Regions from separate parts of the Homo sapiens genome. Here all the other regions are linked to region 3. Evidence: promoter capture Hi-C in human tissues and cell types (Jung and others, 2019). All regions are on one chromosome and are shown on one strand. The core of a region is centred on a gene start or on the middle of the fragment in contact, and the rest is flanking DNA. Distances in the headings are between cores, read along the strand shown.

Region 1 (2,700 bases), core at 57-2,556, 250 kb before region 3:
CTTTTTTTTTTTTTTTTTTTTTTTTTTGAGACAGTCTCGCTCTGTCACCCAGGCTGGAATGTGGTGGTGCAATCTTGGCTCACTGCAACCTGCAACCTCCGCCTCCTGGGTTCAAGCGATTCTCCTGCCTCAGCCTCCCAAGTAGCTGGGATTACAGGCACCCGCCATCACGCCTAATTTTTGTATTTTTAGTAGAAACAGGGTTTCGCCATGTTGGCCAGGCTGGTCTTGAACTACTGACCTCAGGTGATCCACCCTCCTCGACCTCCCAAAGTTCTGGGATTACAGGCATGAGCCACCGTGCCTAGCTTTAATTCCACTCTTAAAGTATCCATGTCTACTAGTTTGAGGGCCAGCCTGGGCCTGCCCAACCATTCCAGCCACCCTCTCACCAAGGCCCCCGGGCTCCATCCAGCAGTCCCACCACTAGCAGTCATCACTCCAACCATAACAACAGCCAGCACGTTCCAAGTACCCACCAGGTGCCAGGCACCTTTCCCCTTGCCTCGTTCAGGCCTCACTTAGCCTTCGGAGGCGGCATCAGCCTCTGCCCCATTCCTGGATGCAGAAACAGGAGCTCTGAGAGGGCTGAGTCAGTTGCCCAGCATCACAAAGTCAGGGACAGGTCCCCCCTCCCAGGTTTTCCTGGTTCAAAGCTGGCATTCCCGGCCTCTCTTGTCCCACAGGAGGCAAAAGCCCGTGCCTGGCACAGCCTGGGAATGGGAGGCAAGTCAGGGTCAGGGCTCAGGGACTCGGAGTTGGTTCATGCTGCTGCCAGAGGACAAAATTAACTCGATAAATAACAGATATGGCAGGGGGCGGGGTGCGCTCCTTTTAGAAAACTCGGCAGCTCCGGGCACCCATGCCTGTGTGTGGGCTTTATGGAGCTAAGTTTTCATTGCAGGCCCCACATCCTGGCCGCAGCCTTCCTGCAGAGGAGGACGCGTGTTCTTTTTAATTAAACCTGTCTGTTATCACAGCAGATTGCTACGAAGGGAGGCCCATTAGCGGAGCGGCAGCTGTTGGGAAACCGCTTGCCACACTGAGCACACGGGCCCTGGAACTCTCGACGGGGCCAGCATCCCTGACCCTTCCCCTGCCCCTGCCCCTGCCCCTGCCCCTGCTGCAACACCAGCGAGGAGCTCTGGGCAGGGCCTCCCACGCCCAGCCCCACTATGCACCAGGAGACACCTGCCACCCAGAGCTCCTACTAAGCAGGGGAGCCTCCCACCCCAGGAACACAGCTCTGGGGACAGAGAAACCTGGATGGGATCCTGGCGCAGCCACTTGTTGGCAATGTGGTCCCAGGACAGTACCTCAGCTCTTTGGTAATGATGAGGCACAGCTCCCATACACCGACGCACCCAGCTTCAGGTACACAATCCGACGACCTCCACAAAGCTTCACGAAGTAGGGACTGTTGTCCTCATTTTACAGATAGGGAAACTGAGGCTCAGGAACAACTGACCGGGTTACACCGCTTGAATATGGCTGAGCTAGGATTTCAATGGACCACAGGCTCAGCTTCCCTAGCTAGGAAACGCAGATAATGGTCTTCACCTGGGAATGTGGGTGGGGGTGGGGGAGTTATTAATAAATAAGGCAGTGAAGGGCGTGGAGTGAGCGTCCATAAATGGCTGCAATTTTTATATGAACGTTGTAATTTAAGCACATGACTGGCCCTTAGCCCCATTTTCCAGATGATGAAACTGAGGCTCTGGCCCTCATAGTCCCCGGTAATCCCCCCTCCTATATCACCCCACACCTGGTCATGCCAGCAGCCTCCCCACCACCTTTCCTAATCTTTTGCCTGTCTCTTCTCCACTGGGCACCAGAACAATTTCTCATTCTCTCATCAAAATAATGTGGATTTGGGCCCAGCGCAGTTGCCATGCCTGTAATCCTAGCACTTTTGGAGGCCAAGGTGGGAGGATTGCTTGAGGCCAGGAGTTCGAGACCAGCCTGGGCAACATGGCAAAACTCCATCTCTACAAAAAATTTAAAAATTAGCTGGGCATGGTGGTGTGTACTTGTAGTCCCAGCTACTCAGGAGGCTGACGTGGGAGGATTTCTTGAGCCTGGGAGGTCGAGGCTGCAGCAAGCAGTGATCTCCAGCCTGGATGACAGAGGGAGACACTGCCTCAAAAATAACAAGGCCGGGCATGGTGGCTCACACCTGTAATCCCAGCACTTTGGGAGGCCGAGGTGGGCGGATCACCTGAGGTCGGGAGTTCGAGACCAGCCTGACCAACATGGAGAAACCCCGTCTCTACTAAAACTACAAAATTAGCCAGGCGTGGTGGCACATGCCTGTAATCCCAGCTACTCAGGAGGCTGAGGCAGGAGAATTGCTTGAACCCGGGAGGCGGAGGTTGTGGTGAGTAGAGATCACACCATTGCACTCCAGCCTGGGCGACAAGAGCAAGATTCCGTCTCAAATAATAATAATAATAATGTGGATTTGGTTTTTAGTTAATTATAAAATAAAATCAGGGTAAACACATTAATGGACAGATGATTATAAAAAGAACATAGAGCCCACGGGCAGTGGCTTACGCCTGTAATCCCAGCACTTTGGGAAGCCAAGGTGGGCGGAGCACTTGAGATCAGGAGTTCAAGACCAGCCTGGCTAACATGGTGAAACCCTGTCTCTACTAAAAATACAAAAATTAGCCAGGTGTGGTGGCGGGCGCCTGTAAT
Region 2 (2,700 bases), core at 173-2,672, 140 kb before region 3:
TCCCACCTACTTAGGAGGCTGAGGCAGGAGAATCGCTTGAACCTGGGAGGCGGAGGTTGCAGTGAGCCAAGATCACGCCATCGCAGTCCAGCCTGGGCAACAGAGAGACTCCGTCTGGAAAAAAATAAATAAATGCACACGTTGTGCAAGTATTTCCTGACCTTGACCAAAGTAATTCAGCTTCCTGAGCCTCAGTTTCTCTACCTACGAAGTTGGGATGAAGGTATCTCTCTCATTGGAGAGGCTGAAGCATTAAACACAGGGATGCCTGTACCGTCCTTAGCGCTGTGCTTGCGTTGGGCAAGTGTCCATTCAGGAATTGCTTGTCTTCTTCCTGCCAATGCTGCTGTTCTTGTTAGTTTTATTATTATTATCCCCAGGTGGAGGTGGGGTGTTCCTCCATGCCTTCGCGCCTCTCTGGCTTCCTCCAGCTCCCTGGAGCTAGCTGCTGGCTGAGCCGGTCCCCCTCCTCCACGGTCCATCGTAACCTGATTTGGGGGGAGGGGCGGTGCAGCCTGGCACGGCCATTGTTGGGCCTCCCCCTGGAGCCAGGGCTGGGGCGGCGGGGGCGGGGCTGCCAGCTGTGCAGTGACATTCCGCAGCCCTGCTAACCGCTGCTCCTGACTCTGGTGGCTAAATTGAGTCTCGGTTTCCTTAAAATGACTATTTATTGCTTTAATGCAGTATTGAGTATTTACTGAGTGTTGGAGAAAAGGCTCGCCCAGTTTGGAGCTTGGCGGCCACCGGCCAGCGGGGCTGCTCTGGGAGGGTGAGTCTGGAGGAGGCGGGAGGCTCCTCTTACCAGAGAAACAAAAGCGCCTCCGGTGTTCCTTCTGCTGGGCTGCAGGGGCGGGGTTGCCCTGTCTCTGATCTGGACCACTCCTTCCCCTGGGTGGTGTGTCTTTGGAAGGAGGGGTTCACAGGACAGCCTTCCACCCGCTTCACCAGCCGTGGAGAATCGCTGGCCTTTGAACAGAGTAGGCACCAGCTGCCCCCTACCAACCCCCCGGGTAGCCCGCTACCTCGGTGGGGCCAGCCCATGCCAGCCCGGGGCAGCTCAGCTGTGTCCCTCTGCATGGAGACCTCCTCACAGCCCCAACAAGGCCAGCGTGGGCCCTCCCCGAGGGCTACACCATTGTCTCCAGGGTGAATGCAAACGCTGACCAGAACCCAGCAGGCAGCATGTGCGGAGAGGCTGAGATGTGCTGGTGAACAAAGATCGGAGGAGGAGGCCTCTCATCACAGCTCCTACGCAGAGGTTCCCGAGCTAGGCGCTGTGCCGAGGCGGTCTGCCCTGCGCCTCAGTAACCCTCAGAACAACCTACCAGGCAGCTTCTATGGCCGGCCTATTTTACAGATGGGAAAACTGAGGTTTGAGAGATTTGCTGAGAGGCACAGACGGGTCTGAACGCAGCTCTGGTGCTCTGCTCACCACCTCCTGGGGGGCAGCCCACTGGAAGATGCTGGGAGCAGGCAGGCTCCCTGAAGGAAGTGCCCATCGAATCCAGCCTGGAAGGATGAAAAGCATTCAGCTGACAGCCCTGGAGGGGCAGGGGGCAGGCCCAGGAGAGGGGACAGGGAGAGCCAAGGCACGGAGTTGAGGCCACGGACCTCAGAGTCCAGAGCAGCTGAGCCAGGTGACAGAGGCTGATGGGATTAGGGAGAGCCTGCCCTGGTGTGGCTGGAGCTGCAGATCCATTTCTGGAAAGAGGAAAGGGAAGCAGGAAGGGAGAAAGAGGGTGGAAAAGTAAGTGAGGGCAAAGAAAGGAAATTGAGGGCAAAAGGAAGAAGGGAAGTGAGAAAAACAGGTTGTTAATAGCAATGCTAATAATAACCTCACTGGCGCCATTCTATGTGCTTTACGTACGTGCTTTACGTACGCATGTTCTATGTGCTGTACGCTGATAACACACTGGGTAGTCAGGGCTGCCCTGTCCTGTTGCGTGTAAGTGGAGAGACTCTGAAGACTTCTGAGCAGGCCGTGATGCAGTTTGATTTTCATTCTGAAAGAGACAGGAGACAGCAGAGGGGACAAGGAGGCCTGGGCAGGGCAGGTATACAGGGATGAGGGCCTGCAGAGGGGCGGCGTGGGAAGAATGGGAGAGGAAGAGGCCTGGGCGAAGGGTTCGAGGTTTCTTCTCTCTCAGCCCTGGGAGAACAGTCATTTCCAGAAGAGCTGGTCAGAGGGAACTGAGCTTAGGGCGAAATGACAAATCGGTCTCTTTTGTTCTCTGTATTTCTTATAGATTTTTTATTTTTTATATTACAAAATCGTTGTTGCTCATTGTAAAATAAATTCAGGCAAAGCAGAAGTCAAACAAAATGGGACAGTATTCATCCGTTCCCTCACCCCTTTCCCAGAGGCGGTCAGTTGACAGATGCGTAACGTTCCAGGCCTTTCCTACAACATAGGAGCATGTTCTGTGCACATCCACTTGGTTTTCCTTTTGATGGGATCCATATTTCCTCTAACTGCTCTGCTCTGTACTGGCTTGTCCCACTTAGCAACACGCTGAGAACACCTGCGCACATCAGTACACGCAGATTTGCTGTATCTTGCAGCCACGACGTAACAGTCCAGGGAATGGGTGAACTTTGATTTATGAACCCATTTCCCTACTGACAGCCCTTTGGGCAGCTGCCAGTGCTTTGCTGTCACACACACCATACATCAGTGAGCATCCTGGTACATATATCTTT
Region 3 (2,700 bases), core at 170-2,669:
GAATCGTTTGAACCTGGGAGGCGGAGGTTGCAGTGAGCCAAGATTGTGCCACTGCATTCCAGCCTGGGCAACAGAGCAAGAATTCGTCTCCAAAAAAAAACAAAACAAAACAAAACAAAACCACAAGGCGGGGGAGCTGGAGCATACATGTTTGAAGTAGAATCTTTGACAAGCTGTTCTGCATCCACTCCCATTTCTGTGCTTCCATATTTGTTTTCTTTCATTTTGTTTTCTAGAAAAAAAAATTTTTTTGGTAGAATTCTCTAGGAAAGCTACACTCCTGTGTCCTAGGGCCCAACAACAAGCAAGACAGGCATAACAGCTGGGAAACCAATCAGCTTAAACTGAGACAGACAATATCAAACAGGCATGTCAGGCCCCACGAGAACATCCACCCTAAATCCAGAAGGCATTATGACCACATCGCTTCAGCTGCCTGGATTTCAGGTATAAATTAGTTCTTCTACAAAGAGGGCACTTGGTCTGTAAACGGGTCCAAAGGTAAGAGTCCCACCGCTAAAGACCTATCTCTCTTCTACACTAACATGGGGGGGCAGTGGGGAAGAAAGGGGCGAGAAGAGGTATGGAGGTTTTGGGAGGGAGTGGGAGAATTGGAGGCTAGAGAGATCGTTTCTGTCCCACCATCTGTGTGACCCCAGTGCCCAGCACAATGCAGCCCACGGAAAGGCACTGGTCCTTTCATTGACCATTTACTGAGCATCTACTACATGCCAAAAAGCGAGATGGGTGCTGTGAAGGCAGAAACGGATTTGGAGATAATCTCCGCCAGGCATACTGAGGTCAAGGTTTTCGTTCGTTTGTTTAGAGAAGAGACGGAGAAGGTCAAGGTGTTTTTGTTTGTTTTGTTGTTGTTGTTGTTGTTGTTTAAGAGTCTTGCTCTGTGCTCAGGCTGGAGTGCAGCGGCGTGATCTCGGCTCACTGCAACCTCTGCCTCACGGGTTCAGGCAATTCTCCTGTCTCAGCTTCCCAAGTAGCTGGGATTACAGGCGCGCGCAACCACGCTCAGCTAATTTTTGTATGTTTTGTAGAGACAGGGTTTCACCATGTTGGCCAGGATGGTCTCGAACTCCTAGCCTCAAGCGATCATCCCCTCTCGGCCTCCCAAAGTGCAGGGATTACAGACGTGGGCTACCGCGCCTGGCCTATGCCAAGGTTTCAAGAAGGTTTAGAACTCAGTATCTGCTCCCCTATTTTCAACAGCGTAGTCAGTCCCTAAAATTGACCCGCTCCAGAGTGTACTGCGCAGGCGCCCGCTACCTCCGCGCTCTCTCCCGACGCCCAGCTCAGACGGTAAGTCCCGCATGCGCACTCCGCTTTCTCTCTGACGCACCCCCGGAAGCACTGTCAGTTTCGGGGGGCGGGACCGGGAAGCGTTTCCGGGGGCTGAAGGCACAGGCTGAATCTGTTGCGGCAGCTGAGGCTACAACAGGCCTGCGCCGGCGGCAGAGAGGATATCTTGGGCGGGGGATGTGAGCGCTGAGCCCTTGGCAGGTACTGCGTGGCCAGGACCACGGGCGGCAAGGGTAGGGGAGGAGAAGTCGGTGGGGGAGTTAAGGGCTCCTCAGCAGGCCCCGACGCTCGCGCCGCTGGCCCCGCCAGGCCCATTCCGTGGACCGGCATACCAAAGCCCCGCGCGGGAGGTTGGGGTCCCGGCGCTCCAGCTCCGAATCCCGCAGTCTTCTGCCCACACGGCGCGCAGACCGCGATACCGAGGCCTTTGGGGCAGCTTCTCGCCCAAGGTCACCCTCGCGGCGGCGGAGCTCCGCCGGCCACAGCGCTTAGAGATCCCGCCCCCGTCCGTCCGCTGGCCTTTCGGGGCGTAGGGTGGGCGCGGCTTGACGACCTCGGGTTCGAGCCACCAATGCCTGAGGCCTGACGAGCCGAGCTGGGAGAAAGACTGCGCCTGGACTTAGCTGATCTTCTGTTTAAGTAAAACATTCAGCATCCCCTGTTGCTGTCTCTGTCACCTGTTGTAACCTGCCCTTTTTGTCTTTCAGCTAGGTCGCTGTCAACCTGATATTTCTCTCCACTTTGTCTTTGTCGGGGTATCTGGATCCTGTTTTATATCTGTCTCCACCTTGCTTCTGTGTCTGTTCACCCTGTCTCTGCCACTCAGCCCTTACTCTAATTCAGGGCCTGTCAGTCTGGCTTTTTGGCCATCTGTCTGTTTCTCTCTTTCTGCCAACTTTGTTTTTGCCTCTTGTCTCTCTTTCCTGAGTTTGGGTGGGGCAGGGCTGCCCAGACCTCTGAGCCATGGAAGGTGACTCATGACCCCGTGAAGTTCCCTGCACTGGTGACACTCTCAGTGACTCGACCGCAGTTTGGCCTCAACTCTGACAGGTGTCGCCCAACATAAGTGTCAGAGTGCAGGAGAGCCTGTCAGGGAGACAGGAGGCCCATTTTAGGGCCAGAGCAGCTTGATGAGTCCTCTCCTTTTCTCGCCTGTGGTTTCTCAGGCCTGCACAGCTTCCCAAATGCCTTCGCTCTATCCACTCACCACAGGATGGTCTCCAGGGATCTCTGGAGCCTGCTCTTTGAGTTACAGCTGTTTAACAGGCCTGTCTACAGGCTAAGAAAGGATCAGACTGAGGTCTTTGGGGCTACTGGAACAGTAGCAGGGTTTCTGGGATAACTGCATGCTTAGTTCAGAGATTGTGTCAGCATTTTCAGTTAAATTAT
Region 4 (2,700 bases), core at 77-2,576, 210 kb before region 3:
GCTACTCGGGAGGCTGAGATGGGAGGATGGCTTGAGCCTGGGAAGTCAAGGCTGTGGTGAGCCATGATTGGGCCACTGCACTCCACCCTGGGCAACACAGTGAGACCCTGTGTTGCAAAAAAAATTAAGTAAGAGGGCTGGGATTTGAACCCATGTTGTCCAACTCCAAAGACCATAAACTTATTTATGATGTGATCTTGCCTCCCCTGATTATTTGTACAGTAATCACATCATAATGAATGTAATCATGTCATAAATGAACTTGTTAACAAATAAAATAAAATCATAAGCCTCTGTCAGTGGAATTGTGGTGCGTGGCTGCTTAAGGTGCAGGTGGGGTCAGAGCATGCTTGAGACACCCATGCCCAGTGCCTCCAAGCAAGATGATGGCAGCCATCCAGATACTTCATAAGGCCTGGATTATCTTCCCATCAAGACAAGCTGCCAAGAGCAGCCCTGATACCAGCGAATGGCAAGCGCAGCTCAGAAAATAAGAGCAGAAGCTCCAAACACACAAGTTGTCATAATAATAGCTGATATTTATGGGTGGCTTATGTGTTAGGCACTGTGCTATTGATTCCTCATGACTGCCTGCAGGGGTGGGTACAGTAGCTGCCCTGAGTTACAGATGAGGGATCTAGAGCCCACAGAGTGAAGTCCCTTGCCAAGGTCACACGACCATCTCAGGTGCAGCAGGACTTAGGTGGAGGTCCGACTCCAGAGCCAGCCCTTAATCACATGCTCTAAAGACTGTATGATAGTTCCTCTCTGCAGCCAAGAGGAAATTTTAGTAGTACCTGCAAAGATCGGAACTGCAGAAAGCGGTTGTGCTGATAATACAACTCCTAGTATTAAAGGGTCCAAGGAAGACTGATCCCCCCAGGCTGATGTCTTCGTCGAATTTCCCTGGCGTTTGCTGGGGAAGGATTGTGTAATCGAGACTGAGGCACAGCATGCAGCCTGAAAGCCTGCTATTCTTCCCATTGTGATTTCAGCCTTAATCTTGAGTTTATAAGTATTTTATGTGGTGAAGAATGTCATCACTGGCAAAAAATAAATCCAACCTCTAAGTAGACGCTTAGCTTTAAAGGGATATTCGCTTAGGAAAATGGTCATGATGCATTGTTAGAGATTTTTCTCATTGCAAACAACAAAGCTATGTAGATGGTGTGATCCAAATTTTTTTCTTAAAGGATGTTTATGCAGAAAAAACAAAATAAGCCCAGGCATAGTGGCTCACACCTGTAATCCCAGCACTTTGGGAGGCCAAAGCGGGCTGATCACTTGAGGTCAGGAGTTCAAGACCAGCCTGGCTAACATGGTGAAGCCCCATCTCTACTGAAAATACAAAAAATTTGCTGGGCATGGTGATGTGTGCCTGTAATCCCAGCTACTCAGGAGGCTGAGGCAGAAGAATCCCTTGAACCTGGAAGATGGAGGTTGCAATGAGCTGAGATTGTGCCATTGCACTCCAGCCTGGGTGACAGAGCAAGACTCCATCTCAAATAAATAAATAAATAAATATTAAAAAATAAAAAATGAAAAACAAAAAGACTAACTCTGGGGGCTGGTATTATGGATTATTTTTATTTTCTCATTTGTGCTTTTCTATGCTTTCCAATTTTTCTAAAATGAAGTACATTATATTCATAACTTAAATGTTATTAAAATTTTTTACAAAGGTTTGCTAGTTTCAGAGGCACTAGACTTCCATTAACAACTTCAAGCTTTGTTGTTTTTTTTTTAACTTTATTTATTTACTTATTCATTCAACAAACATCCGCTGATTTCAGCTGTGCTGGGCTGTCACCCAGAGTGGATCAGATGCAGATTCCTTTGAGGAGCTGCCTTGCAGTAGGTGGGCAGACAGACAGTCCCATACCACAGTTGTCTGCTCAGACATGATGACCCCATTAGATGTGAGCTCCAGGAGGACAAGACCCTCTGTGGGTCATCTCTGTATCCTAGTACCTAGGATGGGGTCTGAAACAGTTAGGTGCTGCAGAAATATTTATGAACAAGTAAGTGAAATCAGGGAGGCACTTGTTCAAATCCCAGCTCATTGAGTCCCAGTTTCCTCTTCTACAAAAACCAGAGGTAATACCTATCCCATGGGCATGGGGTTGTTTGAAAGCTCAATTAACAATGCCTTGGCCAGGCGCGGTGGCTCACGCCTGTAATCCCAGCACTTTAGGAGGCCAAGGCAGACAGATCACTTGAGGTCAGCAGTGTGATACCAGCTTGGCCAACATGGTGGAATCCTGTCTCTACAAAAAATACAAAAATTAGCCAGGTGTGGTGGCACACTCCTGTAATCCCAGCTACTTGGGAGGCTGAGGCACAAGAATTGCTTGAGCTCAGGAGGCGGAGGTGGCAGTGAGCCGAGATTGTGCCACTGCACTGCAGCCTGGGCAACAGAGAGAGACTCTGTCTCCAAACAGAACAAAACAAAACAAAATAAAACAAAACAAAAGCAATGCCTACAAATAGTAATAGACCCTTGACAAAAAAGCAGAAATAACTTGTTTCAAATTGGGTAGATGATGATGACGTGCAAAGTCTGAGGTCAGACCTTCCTCTACAAGCATCGGGAACTTGACTAGAAAAAAAATTTGGTTTATAATTTGGGAGAAGAGTATGTAGCTTATACTCCCATTTCTCTAAGAAAAGTAGAGGCATTAACTTTTAAAATGGAAGGAC

What was found. The method cuts DNA at HindIII sites, captures the fragments that hold promoters and counts their contacts. A contact is called where the count stands out against the background at its distance.
Region 1: a contact is called between a fragment that was not itself captured here and the fragment with the promoter of ZBTB43 in region 3, in 2 of the 25 tissues and cell types used here (aorta and lymphoblastoid cells).
Region 2: a contact is called between a fragment that was not itself captured here and the fragment with the promoter of ZBTB43 in region 3, in 2 of the 25 tissues and cell types used here (bladder and mesenchymal stem cells).
Region 4: a fragment that was not itself captured here is called in contact with the fragment with the promoter of ZBTB43 in region 3 in 2 of the 25 tissues and cell types used here (mesendoderm cells and thymus).

What each region holds. Positions count from the first base shown.
Region 1 is chr9:126,550,318-126,553,017 of GRCh38, forward strand. No RefSeq gene overlaps it. Among named protein-coding and RNA genes, the nearest start is that of LMX1B-DT, 62 kb to the right of the region's middle. The HindIII fragment of the contact is 5,058 bases long and covers 1-2,700 here.
Region 2 is chr9:126,664,756-126,667,455 of GRCh38, forward strand. The region is part of intron 2 of LMX1B (LIM homeobox transcription factor 1 beta); the gene reads left to right. Among named protein-coding and RNA genes, the nearest start is that of LMX1B, 52 kb to the left of the region's middle. RefSeq lists a silencer at 675-969 and an enhancer at 847-1,686. The HindIII fragment of the contact is 9,165 bases long and covers 1-2,700 here.
Region 3 is chr9:126,803,621-126,806,320 of GRCh38, forward strand. ZBTB43 (zinc finger and BTB domain containing 43) reads left to right here and starts at 1,420. Exons shown (of 3, transcript NM_014007.4): 1 at 1,420-1,512. RefSeq lists a silencer at 1,035-1,084 and enhancers at 1,146-1,647, 1,715-1,774, 2,185-2,294, 2,445-2,594. The HindIII fragment of the contact is 16,594 bases long and covers 1-2,700 here.
Region 4 is chr9:126,591,693-126,594,392 of GRCh38, forward strand. No RefSeq gene overlaps it. Among named protein-coding and RNA genes, the nearest start is that of LMX1B-DT, 21 kb to the right of the region's middle. The HindIII fragment of the contact is 5,469 bases long and covers 1-2,700 here.